Linked DNA regions of Homo sapiens: all the other regions are linked to region 3. Evidence: promoter capture Hi-C in 16 types of primary human blood cells and fetal thymus (Javierre and others, 2016). All regions are on one chromosome and are shown on one strand. Each heading gives the region's core, a stretch centred on a gene start or on the middle of the fragment in contact. The rest is flanking DNA. Distances are from core to core; before and after follow the strand shown. Region 1 holds the start of DLGAP2-AS1 (DLGAP2 antisense RNA 1). Region 2 has its middle 240 kb from the start of MIR7160. Region 3 holds the start of MYOM2 (myomesin 2). Region 4 overlaps LOC105377778 (a long non-coding RNA gene).

The links. Contacts are between HindIII fragments. The CHiCAGO score rates a contact against its expected background, and 5 or more counts as called.
Region 1: the fragment with the promoter of DLGAP2-AS1 here is called in contact with the fragment with the promoter of MYOM2 in region 3 in 4 of 17 cell types (M2 macrophages, naive B cells, total B cells and 1 more); the score reaches 8.1 in M2 macrophages.
Region 2: a contact is called between a fragment that was not itself captured here and the fragment with the promoter of MYOM2 in region 3, in 6 of 17 cell types (activated CD4 T cells, non-activated CD4 T cells, fetal thymus and 3 more). The highest score is 7.8, in activated CD4 T cells.
Region 4: a contact is called between a fragment that was not itself captured here and the fragment with the promoter of MYOM2 in region 3, in 1 of 17 cell types (fetal thymus). The highest score is 5.1, in fetal thymus.

The regions. Positions count from the first base shown.
Region 1 is chr8:1,620,192-1,623,669 of GRCh38, reverse strand. It overlaps DLGAP2-AS1 (DLGAP2 antisense RNA 1), which reads left to right and starts at 2,006. Exons shown (of 4, transcript NR_103863.1): 1 at 2,006-2,027; 2 at 3,157-3,296. All of the region lies in intron 6 of DLGAP2 (DLG associated protein 2), which reads right to left. The HindIII fragment of the contact is 8,845 bases long and covers 1-3,478 here.
Region 2 is chr8:2,313,318-2,317,019 of GRCh38, reverse strand. No RefSeq gene overlaps it. Among named protein-coding and RNA genes, the nearest start is that of MIR7160, 240 kb to the right of the region's middle. The HindIII fragment of the contact is 1,882 bases long and covers 912-2,793 here.
Region 3 is chr8:2,043,611-2,047,023 of GRCh38, reverse strand. It overlaps MYOM2 (myomesin 2), which reads right to left and starts at 1,978. Exons shown (of 37, transcript NM_003970.4): 1 at 1,856-1,978. The HindIII fragment of the contact is 1,181 bases long and covers 904-2,084 here.
Region 4 is chr8:1,741,514-1,745,187 of GRCh38, reverse strand. LOC105377778 (a long non-coding RNA gene) reads left to right here. Exons shown (of 4, transcript XR_007060784.1): 4 at 2,336-2,369. Among named protein-coding and RNA genes, the nearest start is that of CLN8, 20 kb to the left of the region's middle. The HindIII fragment of the contact is 3,245 bases long and covers 1-2,999 here.

The sequences.
Region 1 (3,478 bases), core at 757-3,256, 420 kb after region 3:
CTGGTGTCAGGTCATCACACACTGGTGCCAGGTCATGGCACACTGGGGCCACGTCATCGCACACTGGTGCCAGGTCATCACACACTGGTGTCAGGTCATCACGCACTGGTGCCAGGTTATCACGCACTGGTGTCAGGTCATGACGCACTGGTGTCAGGTCATCACGCACTGGTGCCAGGTCATCGTGCACTGGTGTCAGGTCATTGCGCGCTGGTGTCAGGTCATGATGCACTGGTGTCAGGTCATCAAGCACTGGTGCCAGGTCATCACACACTGGTGTCAGGTCATCACGCACTGGTTCCAGGTCATCACGCACAGGTCTTCACACACTGGTGCCAGGTCATCACACACTGGTGCCAGGTCATGCACTCAGGCTTGGGCGGGATGGGGGCAGCACTCCCTTCTGAGTCCAGGTGGCCTGGCTCTGGAATTCATGCTTTAAAATCCCAAGGTCACTGGGATTTTAAGCACTCAAGATGCTGAGTCATAGGACCACAGAGCCAAAGATCCCATCCTCTGATACCACAGACTTTTTAAATAGTTAAAAAATAACAAATAAAACCTCAGCCTCATTTGGCTTAAGAGGCTTTTTAAAAAATATTATAATGGCTTAGCATTTTATCATATAGAGTCCCAGAAGGCCAGGTTCCTCACAGTCACAGATCAAAACTCAAGAACTAGGACTAGGGGGAGCCAATCAAGATGGGGGGATGCACCCTCCGGTGGCCCCGCCAGGTGACACAGGGTGAAGTCCCCAGCACGGCTCACTCCACAAAATCCACCTGACTCTTCCCCCTGAAAATCCCCCTCCTACATCCCGGGGCATTTTGAAGTTGACTTTCAGCCCCTTTGGTTATCTCTCTAAGTGGTAATTCCTGCGGCATCCCAGGTGTCAGAAATGGAAACATATTTTGCTATATGGACTTAGTAGCTCAGAATTTTTTTTTAAATAGTGAAAAGTTTTCTAGAATAACACAGAAATGTTTTTGTTCTAGTTTTGCCTTTCAGATGTTGCTCCCCTTAGATTGTCATCCACAAACAGGCGAGACGGAAAGCTGTGCAAGTGAATCCATAACCCCAAGACAGAACTGCAGGATTCCTGGTGTTCAACCTTGTTCTCGCCCTTTGCGAATGGTTCCAGAGCTGCTTGCTGAATCCTGGGCTCAGAACCTCCTCTGTGACTTAGGTCATTATGAGAACGAATATACATAACAAAGGGTACCCCTGAAAGGGCCTCTGACCCCAGCTGTTTAGATCCATCTAAACATGCTTGAAAATACACAACGTAAACCATCTCCCTTGTTACCTTGGAAAGCAGTAAGGATTCTATGCAGGTTGTGCTAAGGAGATATTTAAGAAAATTTTTTTCCATACTAAATGTGTTCATTTGAAATACAGAGATCATCTTCTCATTTCTATAAATGGGATCTGACAGGAGAAGCTCCCAAATATAAGAAGTGTTTCTTCCACTGCATTCAATGGAAAATGGAGCACGCTAAACAGTGCTAGTGAAACAGACATTCGTGTGCACACGCGTGCGTGTGCTGTGCGTGCACATGTGTGTATTATTCCACCTGCAAAATGGAAATTCTTAGAACACCTTTCAGTATACATTTCAAATAATATCACAATTAATGACTGGATTTCAGAAAATGGCTTCTTTCCAGATCATTTCCACATTCAGGGTAAAAAGTGTTCTTGAGCTTTCTGTGCCCTTGCAGGAGATGAAGGCATGCTTGTTCCCTAACAGCACATTTTTGAGGGAAATCCACATTTGCATCTCACTGTTGGCACCCACATCTGGGATGCCCCCACAGCTGCCCCGACAACCCATCTCTGGGCTCTTGACTGCAGAGGCTCGGAAACGCCATACCCTTGACCGCAGAGGCTCGGAAACGCCATACCCTTGACCGCAGAGGCTCGGAAATGCGATACCCTTGACCGCAGAGGCTCGGAAATGCCATACCCTTGCTTGGCTGCCCTCCTGGTGCTGACGGTGCCTCCGAGATGTGACCCCGCTCCAGCTGGTGAGTCTATGGAGCACCTGCTCAGTGGCTTCTGAGCAGAGTCCGGCCTTCTCCATACTGATGACTGCTCTTCCTGGAGCCCGTGGCAGGTGGGGCTGCAATGGCTGACCCACGGCCAGCTGAGAGTGAGAGCCAGCATGCTCAGATGCATGACGCTGGCTTGGGTCCCAACGGGGCTGACCCCAACCCGGTGTGGACAACCTCTTCTGGCTCTCCTCTGCCCTGGTCCCAGTGCAGCTAACAGTGACCCAGCCATGACAACCTCCTTTGCCCTGGTCCTCGTGTAGCTGACCCCAACCCAGTGTGGACAACCTCCTCTGGCTCTCCTCTGCCCTGGTCCCAGTGCAGCTGACCCTGACCCAGCCGGACCAACCACCTCCGGCTCTCGTCCACTTGGCTCTACCCGTCCTTTGCTATAACCAGGACTGGGCAGGTTTGAAGGATGTGCCACCAAAGGCTTCCCAAACAGAACACGAGGAGAAGGCATCTTAATAAGGCACCTCCCACGTAAGTCTGGGTGCTTGGAAGTGCAAGAAAGGCCTTCTGCAAGATGGCAAGCGTAGCACTCGTGTAGTTGACAGTGTGTTGGGGACAAAGACTGGAACATAGATTTCTTAATGCAAAATGCTAAAAGGAAATGTAGAGTGTGTGCCAGCTGGGAGGCGGGGAGTGAGCATTGTTTGTCTGGAGAGCAGAGGGTAAAGGGGGAAAGGCATTCTGGGAGAGAAGTTTGGGGAAGCAGAGTGGGAAACTGTGAGGGACACCCCAGACAGCTTGATGTTTATGCCACAGGCAAAAGAAAAGTACTGCAAGTTCTTAATCAGGGACTTGTGAGCTGGGAGCTCAGGACGGTCCCTGTGCGTGGGGCCTGGAGGACGAGGTGCCTGAATGCAGGAAGTGGTGTCCTGGACACAGACCCCGAGAGGCTCCTGCAGACTTGAGCTGGTTTCTCATGAGACACCAAAGGGCTTGGATTTTAGGGACAGAGCCCACAGGAATGAGGAATGTGTTAGAGGTGAGATGATTCCAAGGCGCCTAGACTTCTCCCAACAAAGGCAAGATCTATGATAGGAAGAAAAACAGGTTTTGGAGGTTGGACCTGAGTTTGATTTGGACCTGCTGATTCTAGGGCACTTCCAAGAAGTCTGTGAAAGAACAGAGCAAGTGTGACGGGCAGGGCTGTGAACCTCTGAGTGCTTCAGATGTAAAAGTGTGGAAGACGTCGGGCTGTGAGTGTCACGCAGCAGAAAGGTGGAGGAGGCCTCTCAGGTGAGGCGGGGCCACGAAGGGAATCCAGGAGGAAAGTGAGAGGGGCGTGGGGCGGGGGACGCTCCTGGGCACCCGAGGGACAGGAGGAGCCCGGCCCCGGAGCAGATGCTGAGAAATCAAGTGGAATGAGATGGGGAAAGACCGTCAGATGCAGCAAGCTGGGGTCATTTTTAAAAAGGACA
Region 2 (3,702 bases), core at 603-3,102, 270 kb before region 3:
CCTGTAAAGCTACGTATAGAACAATATCTGTCTCTGGGATTCTGCTAAGAGCTGAGTTAACAGATGTTAAGCACGGAAACAGTGCGTGGGACCCATGAACACTCAGTAATCACTCCCAGTACTGTGATGTGAGTCCAGCAAAGACCCAGCTGTGCCCTACCAAGACCATATTTACTTCAAGCACAATAAATAGAAAAGCCCACACCTCGTTTAGAGCTTACTCCATCACTTTATGGTAAAGAGCTCACTCTAAGTTTCATTCTGGGTTCAGCATCAAATATAAGATGTTAAAAGGCAACAGGCACAGTCGTCTTGGGTTCCTCTCCTAAGGAAGAGTTATCCCCTAAGGAAAGGTATCCCCCAGGTTCCCGGGTGTCTGCAAGAGCTTGGGACACAGAAGAAGCAGTTTTGCAGAACCAAGTGTATTCTTAGAAGAGAGAAGATTTTGCCCCAAATATTCCAAATTTTTGCATTGAAGAAATTACGAAAAAAATTAGAAGATTATGCTACCAAGCAAAAGAGCTCTTTTCTTTTTCTTGCGATTTTATCCATGTTTTAATAAATAAAGGACAAGCATTTTGCTACCACTCCAAGCAAACACCAAGAAAGTGAAGGCCTTCCACACCTCCCCAGTCCCCCACACCTCCCCAGTCCCCCACACTCCAACCTCATTCTCTAGGAGCCACCCGAAGAAGATTAGCATCAGCACACGGCACGGTTAGTAAATGTGTGTGCTGTTCAATTGTCCACATTTATGGATCAATGCATTCAAATATGACATTTACTTTAATGCACCTCGTTTTTTAAAAACGGTATTGCTATTCTTCCATACTACATATGGCAATTTTTGTCTTTCAAAACTTCTATACTTTGGTGTAGCAGAATACATCTAGATTTTGTCTTGCAAAGCTTCTATACTTTGGTGTAGCAGAATACATCTAGAAAAACATAGTAGAAGATTATTTGGATGTAAAAGGACATAAGTATAACAATTTTATTACTTTTGTAAAAAAAAGGACTGGATGTTTTTGTGTAAGTATTATATCATTATTATTTAAGTAATATTATCAAATAAAATATTGCAACAGGAACTGCTTAAAGTCATTTTGTTCAAATCACTTGAGATCCCTCCGCCAAGTAACTTTTATGATCTGCCTTAAGTCATTTTAATATTTCAAAAATACCTTAAGAAATATATAAACATAAACAAAATATTATTTAAAATAATCATTGTTTCATAACTGAGCAGTATCACTTTAATATAAAGTGATTTTAATAGAAAGCCTGCCAAAATAGCTTATTAATATCTATATTTTTCTGAACTAAAGTCTAAATATAATTTTAATAATTTTTATGTCTTCTTTAATAAATAGTGATGTCTTCTTTTCTCTGTAGGTGGTCTTCCCATTGCAACTTGCATTTATTTGTTTATTTATTTTGAGACGGAGTCTCACTCTGTAGCCCAGGCTGGAGTGCAGTGGTGCTACCTCGGCTCACTGCAACCTCCACCTCCCAGGTTCAAGCAATTCTCCCGCCTCAGCCTCCCAAGTAGCTGGGATTACAGACACCTACCACCATGTCCAGCTAATTTTTGTATTTTTAGTAGAGACGGGGTATTACCATGTTGGCCAGGCTTGTCTCAAGCCCCTGACCTCAGGTGATCCATCCGCCTCAGCCTCCCAAAGTCCTGGGATTACAGGCATGAGCCACCACGCCCAGCCACATAGATGCCTTTTTAAGGCTGAATCCTGTTCTGTTGCACATAGATGCCACAGTATGTGGATCTATTCATCCATTGATGGACACCTGGGTTGCTTCCACCCTCTGGCTGTTACGAATGGTGTTGCTATGAACGTGGATATAAAATATCTCTTTAAGACACTGATTGAATTCTTTTAGGTACATACTCAGAAGTGAGACTGGCAGGTTATATGGTAGTTCTATCTTCAGTTTTTTTGAGGAACCACCAGACTGTTTTCTGCAACCGCTGCCCCATTAACTTGTTTGTGGTAATCACTATACAATCTATATACATATAAAATAATAACATTGTACACCACGGCTCTCTGGTGGTCACTCACACAGGTGAACAGGGCAGAAAGCCTCAAGCCGCCCAGCTGAGGTTGAACAAGGCTCCACACGGTGAGACGCGTGTCCTTTTCACAGTGGATGTAGTGCCCTGCTTTTGCATGTGTGAGTGTGTATGTTGGTGATTTCACTGTTTAAGTGGCCCCCAATCAATACTGAAGTGCTGACGGCTGCTTCTAAGTACATGAAGGCTGTTACGTGCTTTATGGAAAAGACTTTTGCTCGAGCAGGCAGGAGTTATAGTGATGGTGGCCATGAGTTCAAAGAGAAGGAGTCAACAATAGATATTAAATCAGTTGTCTTTAAACAGAAATACACATTCAACAGCAACTTCCATTTCCTCCTCCAGCCTTTGGAAGCCACCATTCTATTCTCTGCATCCACAAATCTGAGTAGTTCAGATATCTCAATTAGGAAAACTCACACAGTATTTTTCTTCTATGACTGGCCGTTTCACTTACCATCATGTCCTCCAGGTTCTCTTCAAAGTCTCACTTACGCAAGATGAAAAAGTTCTAGACATCTTCTGCACAATATTTGGCTTTCACTTAATGATACCGTACTGCACACTTAAAAATTTGTTAAAAAGATACATCTTCTGTTATCTGTTCTGACTACAGTAAAAATAATAAAATAATAATTATAATAAATAGAGTGCTGGTTGCCAATAAACAGGAAGTAAAACAGAAACACATTAAACAAGCTTGTGTATTGATCAGTAGAAGAATACGTTGAGATAAAAGCTCAGAGGAATCTAACCTAGTATTTCCCTCAGGAGCAATGGTTTGGTGTTTGCTAATCCAGGGTTTGTAGTGAGTCTGTAGAATATATTTCCCACAAATCATGAGAATACACATAAAATTAACATATAAAAGTCAAAAGCCTTTGTATACCAAACTATAATGAGCCAGAGAACACAAAGGTAGAAAAAAATAGCACAAAGATCAAATACAAAGAAGTAAACTTCACAAAAAACACGTAAACCGATAGCAGAAAAACTTACAACAATCCCAAAAAGCACAAGAGTCTTTAAGCCCTGAGCCTGAACCAACCCAAAGCCAACCATGCTGGCACCCTGAGCTCCAACCTCAACCTCCACAAAATAAATGTCTGCTGTCGACAAGTCACCCCGTGTGTAATACTTTGTCAGAGCCGCCTGAACAGACTAAGAAGAGGCTGATGAAGAGAGGACTCTGCACAAAGGCTGAGCTCTGCTCAGTAGATTTGCTTCTCCGAGAAGGATACATCAGCAATTCTGAACCCGCTTTGTGTCTATGCCAGGAATAGAACAAATAAGTAAATATATTGTGGATAATGAGAGTCCAGTTCTCACTGTCAGAAAAGGAAGTTACAAATAAGGAAGGGGGCTTGCTGGAATGATTCCTCTAGTGTCGGATTAAAATTGGAAGTGTCGGTATTGACTCACTCTCTGATACATGGATATAGATACAGACATAGATACACATAGAAATAAATACGGAAGTGTGTGTATGTGTACAGGTTAATAATATACATGCCTTTATTTCCACAACTGTCCACTGAGCAGCCTAGAAATGATGATACCTCAGTAGCAATGAGCACACCTATGTAAAATTCATGATTTATAAAAGCCAT
Region 3 (3,413 bases), core at 729-3,228:
ATACTTGAGATGCTCATGTAAGCATTTCCTTTGAGAGTCATACCAGCGCTCACAAAGTTTCAGAATTTAGAGCATTCTGGATTTCTGATCTTCAGATTTGGAATGATCAACCTGTACTATTTATGACACTATAAAGAAAATGACAGGACCTGGGCCGATCAGCTCCCCAATGTCCCTCTACTGTCTACATAGAAAGCTGTTTTCCTTTTTAAGGAACTATCTCAGACATGTGTTAAATACCCCCTACACACACCAACCAAAAAAAAAAAAAAGAAAAAAGAAAGAGAGAGAGAAAGAAAGCAGCTTTTCCTCGCAGGGTAGTTTTTGATGTGAGTCCCTGGGGCTCAGGCGCATTGGGAGGCTGAGACTCCAGTGGGGACCTGCTGACCTTCAGCTCAGGGGCCTCCACCTGCTCTGCTGTAAAACAGGGGGCTGAGTGAGGTGGCAGCTAACAGTCCCCCAGCTTGGACAGCCTGTGTGTAGATAATCCTGGCGCCACGCTGTACTGTTAGCACAGACCGTCCCCAGGGAAATATGACTTGCCCGGGTCACCGGTAGGGCCACGGCCGAACCCAGGCGCCAGCTGACTCTCCTGACAGCGTCCAGCCCACTTTCCACCACAGCCCAGCTCCCCGGCCACTCCCGGAATGCTCCTGACACGTTTAGGAATCATGACACCAGGATGAAACGCGAGCCTCTCCTCCAGTGCAGGGGACCACGTGTCTGATATCCCCATCCTAATTCCTTCCTGCAAACAACGTGTGGAGCCCATTCCTCATGTCACCAGGATGGGTTTTAATTTGCAAAAATGTTTGAAGTACAAAACATTGACTTCCACTTAATGAAGGAAATTGTTTGTACAGTTAAAAATGTCAAAGTCAATAAATACACCAAATTAAAGCTTTCTAGAGGGGAAAGGGACTCCCAGACACGCAGCGTTGGCCTGTGCCACAAGTGGCTAAGCCCTTGGCTCCCAAGACAAGTTTTAGCTTGGGACTTGGTTTATTAAATAACGCCTTAAATTATCTTTGTTCCACGCTTTCTTTGAGTCCTGTTTTACTTCTACTTAGTAAGAAAGGAATGTGAAATGGAGAATTAGAAAAGGCCAGGTGTTCCCAGTGATGGCAAACCCCTTCCTTCCGTTTGCCTCCGGTGCCTTCCACGTGCAACCACCCAGCCCCACTGTCTTTCTCCAGCAGGTTGCATTTCAAGAGCACGCCCTGAGAAGGCACAGCCTCTATCAGCGGAGTGGAGCTGAAGAAGTCTGAAGGGTCACAACACACCCAACAGCACAAAGAAGAAAACAGCCGTAAGAACGCTGTCATTTTTGGGCAAAAACTTGCAAGTCCTGACAAGGATTGTTCTCTTTCCCATACCGTGGATAATATAGGCTAGGTCTAAGCTGAATGACCCTCGACTCTTTTTTCCCTTAAGAAAATATCCAGTTTTATTATTTCACACCTTTATAAGTCAGCCCTCTCCTCGGGGGAGGCTTTCGTTTCTGAGAATCTCATGAAACTTGCAGACATCAGTCCACTGACTGGGGGGCCCCCTGGGGCCACGATGAGACCAGGGCTAAAACCCAAAGCACACGCCGCAGGGTGCTAAACGGCACTTAGCAAAGACCACGGCTGTGGGAAATAAAATGTTAGTTGAGCATAAAACCTCGTCAAAGAAATACAGATCCCAGAACTAATTGCTCTGTTTTCCACAGTAAAGGGTGCCTGCGACGGGGTGCACTGGCTCTCTCTTCTTGACCCTGAAGTAGAGGTACTTAGAAAATGTGAGTGCAGAAGTTACCGGTCCTCCCCTTAAAGCCACAAATTAGAAAAGGCAAGAAGAGAAAGACACTTACCCAGACAGAAAGGAAAATTGCAAGGAGGAGAGAGAATTCCTGACCACCGGCTCACCAAGCCACCCACACTCCAGCCGAGGAAGGCAGAGCTGACTCCTGCAAAGCAAGCGCCTGTGCCTCCCTCCCGTTTAAGGTCTGAGGAGCTACTATATATAGACGCCTGGGCCTGCCTCTCCCCACATCAATACCCACATCGTAAATCACCAGCCTGACCTCAGGAGGAAAAGCTTCTTGTTCAAACTGAGGGCGGGGGAAATCACGATTCAAAACTGGAACGTGTCCTTTCTGAGTCCCAAACTGCACTTTTCCCAGGAAACCGGGTGTGACACTTCAGCCCCCGACCCAGAAAGAGAGGGCAGGGCACTGACTTCCCACGCTCCCTCCCCGCAACTCTCCTCCATGAGTTCTAATCCTTACGTGTGAATTCTCAGACATATCTTCAATCCTTTCGAGCTACAGGTTCCCTGGCTCACAAATTGCAACTCCTGAATGAGTCTTTAATAATGACATGGATTTCAGTGAGCATTTGTGCCATTCGCAGGCCTGGACACCCGAGTTGAGGTCGGCTGTGGAGGGAGGGAGGTGCACAAGCCCCTGGGTTTGTGAGCGTGTGTGTGCATGTTCGTGTGTTTGTTCGTTTTTTTTTTTTTATTTCAAGAACGACTCAGGTCTTCACTCGATTGTATCTTAGGGCTATTTTAGCAAGAACTGCCTACCCAAAAGAGGAGCGGTGCCTAGTCGGCAAGTCGGGGCTTATTTATAGCCATTACCACAGACGTACACTGCGTCTACACCACACGGATAATTGCAGGGTGCCCGTCGTTTCGCACAGCGTGTGTCCAAATATAGATAACACACACCTGGCACGGTCCTGGGCTGCAGCCTGGCCAAGAGGCGGGGCCTCAAGGGGATGCCCCCATCTGAGGACCCGGAGAATCACACTCCAGCTGCACCTCACCACAGGGGCTGAGGACTTCGGCCAGCTGCTCAGCCCACGGGGGCTATGCTCCCCAGCTCTAAAACGCATGGAATAACAACTTTCCTGTAAGTTTGTTGTGACAAGTAGAGAAAATATGATAAGAGAATTGCCTTAAGAAACTCCACGTTCTCACACTGGGGTATCAGAGGCACAGCCAAGGACCAGCGAGCAGGTGGATGGAGGCGAAGATCAGATACGAGAAAGACGCGAGCACAGCCTCTTGCTGGGCCCCAGAGCGTTCTGGATGCTGGATCAGGAGGCGAGTGTTTCTGTCTTCTTCCCCTTCGTATTCTGATGGCCTAGCATTTAATTTAATTAGTGTTTGTTGAGTGATTTCTTAGTCTATTCAGGCTGCTTTAGCAAAACACCATAGACCGTGTAGCTTATAAAACACAGGAGCTTCTTTCCCACAGTTCTGGGGACTGGAAGTCCAAGATCCAGGTACCAGCAGACACTGCCTGGGGAGAGCCTTCTGGTTCTGGGACGGCGCGGTCCCTGAGTCCTCACCAAGTCAAGGGGCCAGGCCGCTCTTGGGGCCTCTGTATGAGGATACTGATCCCACTCGGGAGGTTCCACCTC
Region 4 (3,674 bases), core at 128-2,627, 300 kb after region 3:
CCTGCCCATTGAGAGCCTATGGTCATATGGGGAAACTACCTTTTCATCATGGAAAAGAAGAACTGGTGAGCTTCCTTTGCTGACTCATTAAGCCATTCATCTAGCATTCACCAAGTGCTACATTCATCCAGCGTTCACCAAGTGCTACCGGAGTGCCAGGCTCAGGGCCACATAGAGCTGTTTAGCTGTTCTTGTGACTTTTTTTCCGCTTTTTCTTTTTTTTTTTTTTTTTGAGACGGAGTTTTGCTCTCATCGCCCAGGCTGGAGTGCAATGGTGTGATCTCGGCTCACTGCAACCTCTGCCTCCCGGGGTGAAGCAATTCTTGTACCTCAGCCTCCCGAGTAGCTGGGATTACAGGTGTGTGCCATCATGCCTGGCTGATTTTTGTATTTTTAGTAGAAACGGGGTTTCCTCATGTTGGCCAGGCTGTCTCAAACTCCTGACCTCAGGTGATCCACCAGCCTCGGCCTCCAAAAGTGCTGGGATTACAGGTGTGAGCCACCACGCCCGGCCAATTTTTTTTTTCTCCTAACATCTCAGGGGAACGTTTTTATCCTCGTGCAGTTTGCCCATCACGAGCCGGGTCCCGTGTTGATGCCAAGGTCATAGCAAGTGTCATGCGGCACGCCATTGGGTACTCGAAGTGTTTAGGTGCCTGCCCTCCCCTCGGATCCGGCCCCATCCAGGGGCCCTGCTCCCATTTCCTGCCCTGCACCTTCCTCCAGGAAGTCCCCCTCCCGGCCACGCCAGCCCGTTTCCAGACCTCACCCTTGACCTTCACCCCTTATTTGTGCACGTGCTGCCATCCTTCGCGGTGTCACGTCTCACCGTCACATTCCCAGCCGGGATAGTTCCTGCATATCACGGAAGACCTGCCTAGGGAGCTGCCTTCCCGAGTTTTCATCTTCTCTCGTCCTCAAGGAGCCTCCCGCCAGGCACGCGGCTCCTTCCGCTGGCTCTCCCCTCTCTCTTCTGTCACTAGAAGGGCCTTGACCCTATCAGCGTCGAGCCTTTGTCGTGATGACGCATTTGTCTTCTCTCTGAGTGGCTCTGTACCGCGTTCTCTTAGCTAATCTGTGTTTCTCAAAGTTCCCTTCCCTGAATGGTTCCAACGTCCTGTTGGAGGAAAGAGAGATTTGCAGAAATTTGGAAGGTGGAAATGAAGGAGCAGCTATTTTCTACAGGACGATCATCTGTGTTTATTCACACCGTGAGGCTCAAAGAGGTTGCTTCCCCCCTACCAGCGGAAAAGGGATGCTGCACGAAGGAATTTTAGGCAGTGACACTGTAATGGTGGGTACGTGTCATTCTACATGTGCCCAAACCAGAGAACGGCCAACGCCGTGACTGGTCCGTGTGTTACAGTTGATGAACCTGCATTGGAGTATCGGAGTCGCCAGTGCGGGCACAGACATCTGCGGAAACATCAAGCCCCGCTCATCCCCTCCTAGTGGGAAGCCCCCCCTACATTCATCAACGCCACAGGTTTCTTTATGGGAGAGTTTTAAAGGTTGTAGTTTTAGGCTGCCTATTTGTTCAGAGCAGAGAAAGAGAATAAGCTCTGAAAATGGCAAAGGCATAGCAGGAGGAGATTGGAACCATGGTGGAGATCAGCCCCCAGGCCAGGACTGCACAAGCCGTCCCTCAGTGGGAGGGACCTTCCTGCTCGTGGTGGTCACTTGCCTCATAGTGAGCACTCATTCCCCCGCCGGGGGCGGCTGGCACCCATCATTGCAGATCTGTGGGTGCTCCTATCCCTCCAGAGGACACTAAAGAGCAGGGGAGATGCACTTTCCTTCCAGTCCAAACCAGCCACCTGCCCGAAGGAAGAAGGAGAACCAGGGCTGCATCCAAGGAAAACACTTTCATTTCTCAAAGGAAAACATTAGGAACCTGAGGGAAGCTATTGCCAGGTGTGTAACTGACCCAGGATCTTCATCTAGAGCAGGGCTGGCAAAACAAGGCCCTCAGGCCAAATCAGGTCCACCATCCATTTATTTTGTATTCTCTGTAAGCTAACCATGAATTTTATTTTTTTTTAATGGTTCAAAAATGTAGAAGGAGAATGATGTTTTGTGACATGTAAAAATGATATGCTGTTCACGTTTTCAAGTCCATCAAAATAAGATAAACTGAACAGCACCAGGCTCATGGGTTTAGTATTGTCTGCAGCTGTTTTACGTGACAGCAGGAGAAAAGGTCCCACAGAGACCACATGGCTCACAAAGCCTAAAAGGTTAACTTTCTGGCTCATTACTGGAAAAGTTTGCTGATCCCTGACTATTTTTATTTTATTTTATTTTATTTTATTTTATTTTATTATTTTTGAGACAGGATCTCACTCTGTCACCCAGGCTGGAGTGCACTGGTGCAACCTCGGCTCACTGCAGCCCTGACGTCCCAGGCTCAAGCGATCCTCCTATCTCAGCCTCCCAAGTACCTGGGACTGGGACAGCAGGAGTGCAACACCCACACCAACACCAGACCACAGCCTTGACCCCTGAGTTTAGAGCATGCAAGAAATTCCTACAAATCAATTAGAAAAAACAAGCGATTTAAATAGAGAAATGGGCAAAAGACCTGAACAAGCACTGTACCAAAGAAAAGATCAAAATGGCTACTCAACGGATGCTCCCCTGTGTTATTCATCAGTGGCTGCTGCTTACAACCACAGTGAGATATCACTACATAGCCGCCAGGACAGCAAAGTCAGGAAAGAGGAGCAGGAATCAGTGTGGATACAGAGAAACTGAACTCAGACACTGTTGGTGGGAACTGAACTCACACACTGCTGAGGAGAACTGAACTCACTCACACACCATGGGGGGACTGAACTCACTCACACAGCACTGAGGGGACTGAACTCACACACCACGGCGGGGCCTGAACTCACTCACACACTACTGTGTGGAAACTGAACTCACTTGCGCACCCCTGGGGGGAAGTAACATTTTTGCATTGACCCTGGACCAATAACCACTGAAACTGAACTGAAGCTTCCATGGCGACACTGTGATTCCCCACGACCAGCAGAAATGCAAACATATTGCACACAAGGTCATGCACAAGAATGTTGACAGGATCACTGTTTGTGTGTTTATCTGAACCTTCACCTGCTCATGACAGATAAAGGTTATCATGTGAACGTGGGGAAGACATCGCCAAACACCCAGGGGAGGTTTCCCTGGGAGCAGACACCTCCTCCCCTCGCCGTCCTCTTTTACCTCCCGTTGCCGTCCTCTTTGAAATGCCCTGCAGCACGGTCAAGGGACTCTGCTGCTCTGCCAGTCCACTGTGTAGGTCTTCCTGCTTCTCCACTTTATTTCCACCAAATTATAAACTCTTGGAAACAAAGATTCTGCCATCACGCATTTCTTTATCACTCACAGCATCTGGATGTCCTCCACAACAGCAAGTGGCACCTGTCATATTTTGTTTTGTGTTTTTTGTTGTTGTTGTTTTGTTTTTTTTTGAGACGGAGTCTCGCTTTCTTGCCCAGGCTGGAGTGCAGTGGTGTGATCTCTGCTCATTGCAAGCTCCGCCTCTCGGGTTCAAGCGATTCTCCTGCCTCAGCCTCCCTAGTAGCTGGGACTACAGCTGCGTGCCACCACGCCTGGCTAATTTTTTGAATTTTTAGTAGAGACGGGGTTTCACAGTGTTAGACAGGATGGTC